2 separate regions of the Homo sapiens genome follow, and region 2 is linked to region 1. The links are contacts of gene promoters, found by promoter capture Hi-C in blood cells and fetal thymus (Javierre and others, 2016). All regions are on one chromosome and are shown on one strand. The core of a region is centred on a gene start or on the middle of the fragment in contact, and the rest is flanking DNA. Distances in the headings are between cores, read along the strand shown. Region 1 holds the start of PIK3C3 (phosphatidylinositol 3-kinase catalytic subunit type 3). Region 2 overlaps PIK3C3 (phosphatidylinositol 3-kinase catalytic subunit type 3).

Region 1 (3,494 bases), core at 288-2,787:
GGGCAGGGAGGCCAAAGCCAATATTCTTCCCATTACAGTAAGATAAATCAGAGTCTCAAGAGTACTTAGGCTGGCATGGGGAAGGGACTTAGTACCCCAGATAGATGTCTGAAATGATCCTGAACAATGCATGAGAGTTGAAGCAAAAGAAGCAGAACGTCATCCCAAAGGGAAAGGAGACAGAGTGAGACCCTGTCTCCAAAAAAAAAAAAAAAAAAAAAAGGGACCGGTTTTTTTGGCTTTTTCTTTATTTTTAATGTTCAAACATTTCAAAAAATGCATTCATATATCCAAGAAATACTGAGCATCAAGCTGAAGGAAAGCCCTTTATCAATATTGATCCTGTATAAACTACTAGTGGTGTATGCTATGGAAAATACCTTAAATGAGTGTATAAAGTATCATACAAAGGTACAAGGTGGTTGTTGACATATTACTTTTACCACCACCACCACAAACTAAAAAGTAAAGTATTTGTCAGCGAATAAGGGACTTCTGAAAATAAAATGAAATGATCATTCAAAGGTACATCAGACAACTGAGAAAATTTATCTATCACTTACTGCAGGCCTTTGACCGACACATATTTGTTGAATATTAATTGAACATACACAAGAAATGTTTATTAATTATGGATGATGCTATGGTCAATAATTTGTGATAGCTTTGACAACACTCCTACATGACCACCTTAAAAGGGACATAATTTCCAACTCTGTCTTGTGCATCCCTCGTCATTATACCAGTTCTATTATCCTCATCTCAAGATATCACGCCCTTGACCTTTACTTCAGCCGTGGTGCCCCAACGTTTTCCTGCAAAGACTCTTTTCTCCTATCTTCTTGGTACCTTTGAAACTGGAACCCTCATCTTCGACTTACTCCCAACTTCCCTGACTAAACACTGCCATACTACCCAAAGATTCACTCTAGGCCTCTATCACCTCCCGTGCTAATACACCATGTGCTCATCTTATTCTCAACTATCGCATCTGCCTGTGTCTACCTCTCCATAATTTCTGAAGCCTTCATTCCACCCTACAAGCCCCGTTCCAAAATAAAGATCGTCCTCTTACTTACGACGAGACTTGATTTCTTAATTTACAATGAAATAGTAATAAACTCTCAAAAGGCTGAACAGCAAAAACTTTAAAGACTGTAAAATACAGCGGAACTTAAGGGCTATTCCTACTGCTGTGCTTCTCACGGAGACCACGTATTAAATCCTTTTCCAAAAGAGCCCCTCTCCACGATCCACTCTCTCGCGCCTCCCTGGCTACAGCCCTCACAGCCGCCCCCAATCTGGGCCTTGAGACGAGTCACGTACTTTCTGCCTCTCACTCCCAACAGGCCCCTGCCCCCACGTCCCTACGCCCCAGCAATCCCACTCCCTGTCCCGAGTGTTCTCTTACATCTTAAGCTGGACGTTGATATCCAGGTCACAACTATAGATGTAGTGAAACTTCTCTGCTTCCCCCATCGCACCGTCTGCAAAGGTACCACCTACAGCGGGAACTTAGGTACAGGAAAAACAACATAAATGAACCAGCTGAGCCCCACAACACGGAACTTCCGGTTCCGCCCCCGCCAGCAAGCCGCCAATCCACGCCCGGAGCGAGTTCCGACGCGGCGGAACTCCCCGCCGAAACAACCCTTCCGCGCATGTGCACAAGGCGCCCACCATCTTGCTTAAGGGCAAATGTATACGGGAAACGGCTAATCTGGTTACATTCCAGTTTTCCTGTCTTGACAGCACTTTTTTTTTTTTTTAAAGAAAAAGAGACGCTATCATTTGAGCTTGAGCTGTACCTAAAACAATACGAAAGAAAATTCAATTCAAAAAGAATTATAACAGCTTTCACTGGCTGCCGGCTAAACAGGTTACAAGCACAAAAATTGGAATTTTGCCAGGTTTAAATTCCAGTGGCCTTCCCAAAAAGTGTAGCACTAATTTGCTATCTCAAGCAAGGATTTTCTCTTTCTGCTCTAAAGAGTAGGGAAAGGACTAAATAGAGAATAAATAAATCTGGGTTTCATGTTTGGTGTTGTCAGTATTCATGCTACTTTGGACATAATACTTGCGTGCATGTTTAAACTGGGAATATTCAAATTCAATGTAGTTTCAAGCCCTAACCCAAGTTAGAATCTAGAGGCCTCCTGTAATAACTACAGAACACAGATCTCTAAACCCTCTGAGCTCCTATAATGTTTGTTTTTATAATTATTATAATCTAAAATTGTAATACTCCCTTCCAATTAGATTGAAAACTCTTGGAAGGTAAGACCAGTGTGCCATTTACTTCCGTGTCTTGCCCCGCTAGCTGTCTAATGCATTGCTGAGTTTAATACTTCCTACTTACTGGTTATTAATGATGATATTGAATGAAAGTCTCCATTTTCTATGCCTTTATTTCTTTTTTTTTTTTTTTTTTGAGATGGAGTTTTGCTATTGTCGCCCAGGCTGGCACCATCTCGGCTCACTGCAACCTCCATCTCCTGGGTTCAAGCGATTCTCCTGCATCAGCCTCCCAAGTAGCTGGGATTACAGGCACCCGCCACCCAGTCAGGCTAATTTTTGTATTTTTAATAGAGATGGGGTTTCACCATGTTGGCCAGTCGGGTCTCAAACTCCTAACCTCCAGTGATCTGCCTGCCCTGGCCTCCCAAACTGCTATGTCATTTCTTTTTTTTTTTTTTTTTTTTTTTTTGAGACAGAGTCGCTCTGTTGCCCAGGCTGGAGTGCCCGTCTCTCTGTTGCCCAGGCTGGAGTGCAGTGGCGCGATCTCGGCTCACTGCAAGCTTCACCTCCCAGGTTCATGCCATTCTCCTGCCTCAGCCCCCCAAGTAGCTGGGACTTCAGGTGCCCGCCGTCACGCGCGGCTAATTTTTTGTATTTTTTAGTAGAGTCAGGGTTTCACCGTGTTAGCCAGGATGGTCTCGATTTCCTGACCTCGTGATCCGCCCTCCTCGGCCTCCCAAAGTGCTGGGATTACAGGCGTGAGCCACCTCGCCCAGCCTATGTCTTTATTTCTAAGTGCTGCATTTTAAGACGGACATCACTAAAGTATGTGCAAAATGGCGTAATTAGAATGTTGAGGGATTAGAAAAAAAATATTTCCAAGAAAGGGTGAAAGGTGTGGAGCTGTTTAACCTGGAAAAGGAAAAAAAATGGCTAATGCAGAATGTTTTACACAAAATAAGTTCTCAAAAATATTTATGGAGGCAAGAAAAGGATTTGGGTAGAATAAAGAAAAACATGATAGTTATCCTCCTATAACTTAAAGTTTAAACAAAAAGAGCACCTTTGATTTGTTCCTAAGAATAACTGCCACCAATGGTTGGAACTTACAGGAAATGTAATTTCAACAAACAATACAAATTGAACTTTCTAATTATCACAGCCATTCAACAGTAACACTGTTGTCACAAGTACTCTGTTTAAGGCATAACTCCAGCAATGAGTGTGAGGTTTGATGTGAAACCTCAATCTTGAAT
Region 2 (3,494 bases), core at 714-3,213, 50 kb before region 1:
ATGGGGATTGTCTGCAAAATGTAAAAAGCAGATATCTTTTGGCTCAATAATTATAACGCAAGCAGTTTATTCAAGAATATGATTTTTAAGGCCGGGTGTGGTGGCTCATGCCTGTAATCCCAGCACTTCGGGAGGCCGATGGGGGCGGATCACGATGTCAGGAGATCAAGACCATCCTGGCTAACACGGTGAAACCCCGTCTCTACTAAAAAAGAAATTCAAAAAAGTATCCAGGGGTGGTGGCGGGCACCTGCAGTCCCAGCTACTTGGGAGGCTGAGGCCGTAGAATGGCGTGAACCTGGGAGGCAGAGCTTTCAGTGAGCTGAGATCACGCCACTGCATTCCAGCCTAGGAGACAGAGCAAGACTCCATCTCAAAAAAAAAAAAAAAAAAAAAGAATATGATTTTTAAAACATACCCACCTACCCTCCCCCACACACCTCTTCACTAAAATACAGTTACAGGAAAAGAATGGGAACAACAGCCTATAAAAGAGGCCCAATGGTTAAGTAAATTAACAAAAAAATTCACAGTAAAATATCATGCTGTTATTTAGAAAGAATAAGGCAGATCTACAGTGACAGAGTTCAGGACATGCTAAAATAAAAAGGACAAAATATAGCATGCTGGCATTGAAATTTTTTTTGTTATTCCTAACAAGCCCCTTTCAATCACACCTGAGTTTATGTTCATGAGGTAACTTTTGGAAAGCCCCTAAAGATGGGGGTTGGCTGAGAGAAAAGCCAGCCATGTGATTAGAGGGTGGGACTTTAAGCTCTACCCTCTCAACCTCTGGGGAACAGAGAGAACTGAAGATTGACTTAATCGGCCAGCAGCCAATGATTTAATCAATCATGCCAATGTAATGGCGCTTCCACAAAAACTCTGATTTTTTCTGCTTTTCTCAGAAAAGCACAGCATTCTGAGAGCTTTTGGGTTGGTGAAGAAGAATGCACCCACATGCCAGGAGGGTGCTATACTGCAAACTCCATGGGGACAGAAGCTCCTGTGCTCAGGACCTCAACCCATGTGTCATTTCAACTAGCTGTTCATCTGCAACCTTTAGGATACCCTTCATAATAAATCAATAGTAGTAAGTAATGTTTTCCTGAGTTTTGTGAGTCATTCTGGCAAATTATCATTTCATCTAGCTGTTCTTCTGTATCCTTTAGGATACCCTTCATAATAAATCAATAGTAAGTAATGTTTCCCTGAGTTTTGTGAGTCATTCTAGCAAATTATCACACCCAAGGAGAGGGTTATGGGAGCCCCCTGATTTGTTAAAGCCAGTAGGCCAGAAGTCAGAAGGATGTAATCTAGTAGAGGTTAGGGGGTTGGGGTGGAGAGACTGAGCAGTGTTACAGATGAAACAAGATTGGTTATAAATTGGCAACTGCTGAAGACAGATGAATTATTTGTTGGGGTTCATTATACTATTTACTTTAGTGTTTAAATTTCACCATAATTAAATACACACATACAATGATCAACTTTAATAAATATTTAATTTGCTTCTTGAAATTCAGATACCACTAATTCAAAATGATCTCACTGTCCCCTCCCTCTTAAAAAGGTATTTGATAATAGTTGTTCTATGCGATCGACATTGCTATATATATTGAAGCTTGAGAAGTTACTCCACATCCCATAAAGTACTGCTGGCTAGCATAAACTATTAGGTTATGTTTAAGAACATATTCACCCTATAAAAATTAAGAAAACAAGTTGCTGGATTAGTCTATCTATAAAGAATTATTAAAGCCCAAAATCCAGCAATGCTTTTTGTCAAAAAAGTGTTCTTCCTTCCCTGATGGCCTTACATGAACAGTCATGTGCCACATAACAATGCTTCAGCCAAGACAGGACCACATATATGACAGTAATCCCATAAGATTATAATACTCTGTTTTTACTGTACCTTTTCTATGTTTAGATACACAAATACTTAGCATTGCGTTACAACTGCCTAAGGTATTTAGTACAACAACATGCTATACAGGTTTGTAACCTAGGAGTACACAGCCTCAGTGTGTAGTAGGCTTTACCATCTAGGTTTGGGTAAGTATACTCCATGATGTCTGCACAAAGATGAAATCCCCTAAGGACACATTTCTCAGAACACTTCCCTGTCATTAACTGATAAATAACTGTATATAAATAGCCAGCATATAGTTGGCAATCTTTGCTTTCCAAGGATCCAAAACCCCTTCAGAAAATCTACATATACATATAATTGTCATCAGCTGAAAGTTTAAAAGGCGAGTTTGAAGGAGAGGAAGATGACCATGCATCTCTAAGCTTTAAAGGCCCCAAGGGCTTTTCAAGGCTACAATTAAATGTGGCTTGTTGTATACTGACTGATAGAGGAGATCTGAATTATTCCCTAGCTGGTGCTGCATTAAACCATTTTTCACTAGAATTCCTTCTTCCAGACAGAGCAATACAAGCTCTGCTGCCAGGTAAATGTCCTGGGAGAGACTGTCCTACCACGTAACAGATCAGGAAGTAAATTTTCATTTCACAGAGGAGTCCTCTGAGGCATATTTTAATTTTCCTTCTGAAAATACACCTAGTATATCCTCTTCCCTTCTAAAAATCTCTCTTGCATGTGCACACACTCTCTCTCTCACTCTCACACACACATACACACATAGTTTATAATTAGGCTCTAGTTTAAAATGACCCATTGAAGCAGAATAATAAATAATAATGCACCTCATCATCGGCCTGTCGCAACCGGGCAACAGCATAACGCCTCACAGTTGGGTTGGTGTAATGAGAGGATAACAGCTCCAAGGAGTCCTCTACATCCATCGGCTTCCATTTTCCCAGAAGTTCCAAGGCCTGTTTGGCCTCTTGAGGTAGATCCCAATTAACACATTTCAAGAATTTTGTCAAGGCCTAAAATCAGAAAATATTTAAAAATTAGAAACAGCCTATTTCCTGGGATAGAGAAGTTGACTAGGCAGAGTTCCACTAGGTCCTAATGACAGAGCCACGGAGTCAGTGATAGACTCCTTGTGTAAGCACTAAATGAAGTTATATATATGATCTTATAGAAGCACTGCAGGACAGAAAAAAAGCATGTTCCCTGTATCTTTATATTTTCCAGGCCAAATCATTTGCGAGCACTATGAATTTTTTAATTTGTTTTGGCTTTTCTTCATTTTGCTATTGTTATTTTAAAATACTGCAGGGCTCAAGACATGGAAATAGTTGAGGCATTTCTCACGAACTCTAAGATGCCTTAGAGAAAACCTATATTTTACAACAGAAAATACTGCAACCACTGAGCGAAGGGCCGGAAGCCATGCTAGGGCAGAAATTCCCAATAGCCTCACTCTCGATCACCTCCCTAGAGTATGACCACCGGCTTTCGCAGATACTTAAACATGAAGACTCAAACGATGTGGAGTATGTACGTATCTCTGTGAAGTAACTACTTAAAAAGATAGGCAATCCAACAAAACCTCAAAACAGAAGCATAAAAATGG

The links. The method cuts DNA at HindIII sites, captures the fragments that hold promoters and counts their contacts. A CHiCAGO score of 5 or more calls a contact.
Region 2: a fragment that was not itself captured here is called in contact with the fragment with the promoter of PIK3C3 in region 1 in 2 of 17 cell types (non-activated CD4 T cells and monocytes); the score reaches 5.2 in non-activated CD4 T cells.

The regions. Positions count from the first base shown.
Region 1 is chr18:41,953,277-41,956,770 of GRCh38, reverse strand. PIK3C3 (phosphatidylinositol 3-kinase catalytic subunit type 3) reads right to left here and starts at 1,537. Exons shown (of 25, transcript NM_002647.4): 1 at 1,412-1,537. The coding sequence starts at 1,479. RefSeq lists an enhancer at 1,580-1,759. The HindIII fragment of the contact is 3,603 bases long and covers 1-2,800 here.
Region 2 is chr18:42,003,763-42,007,256 of GRCh38, reverse strand. It overlaps PIK3C3 (phosphatidylinositol 3-kinase catalytic subunit type 3), which reads right to left. Exons shown (of 25, transcript NM_002647.4): 10 at 2,716-2,901. Among named protein-coding and RNA genes, the nearest start is that of PIK3C3, 50 kb to the right of the region's middle. The HindIII fragment of the contact is 674 bases long and covers 1,627-2,300 here.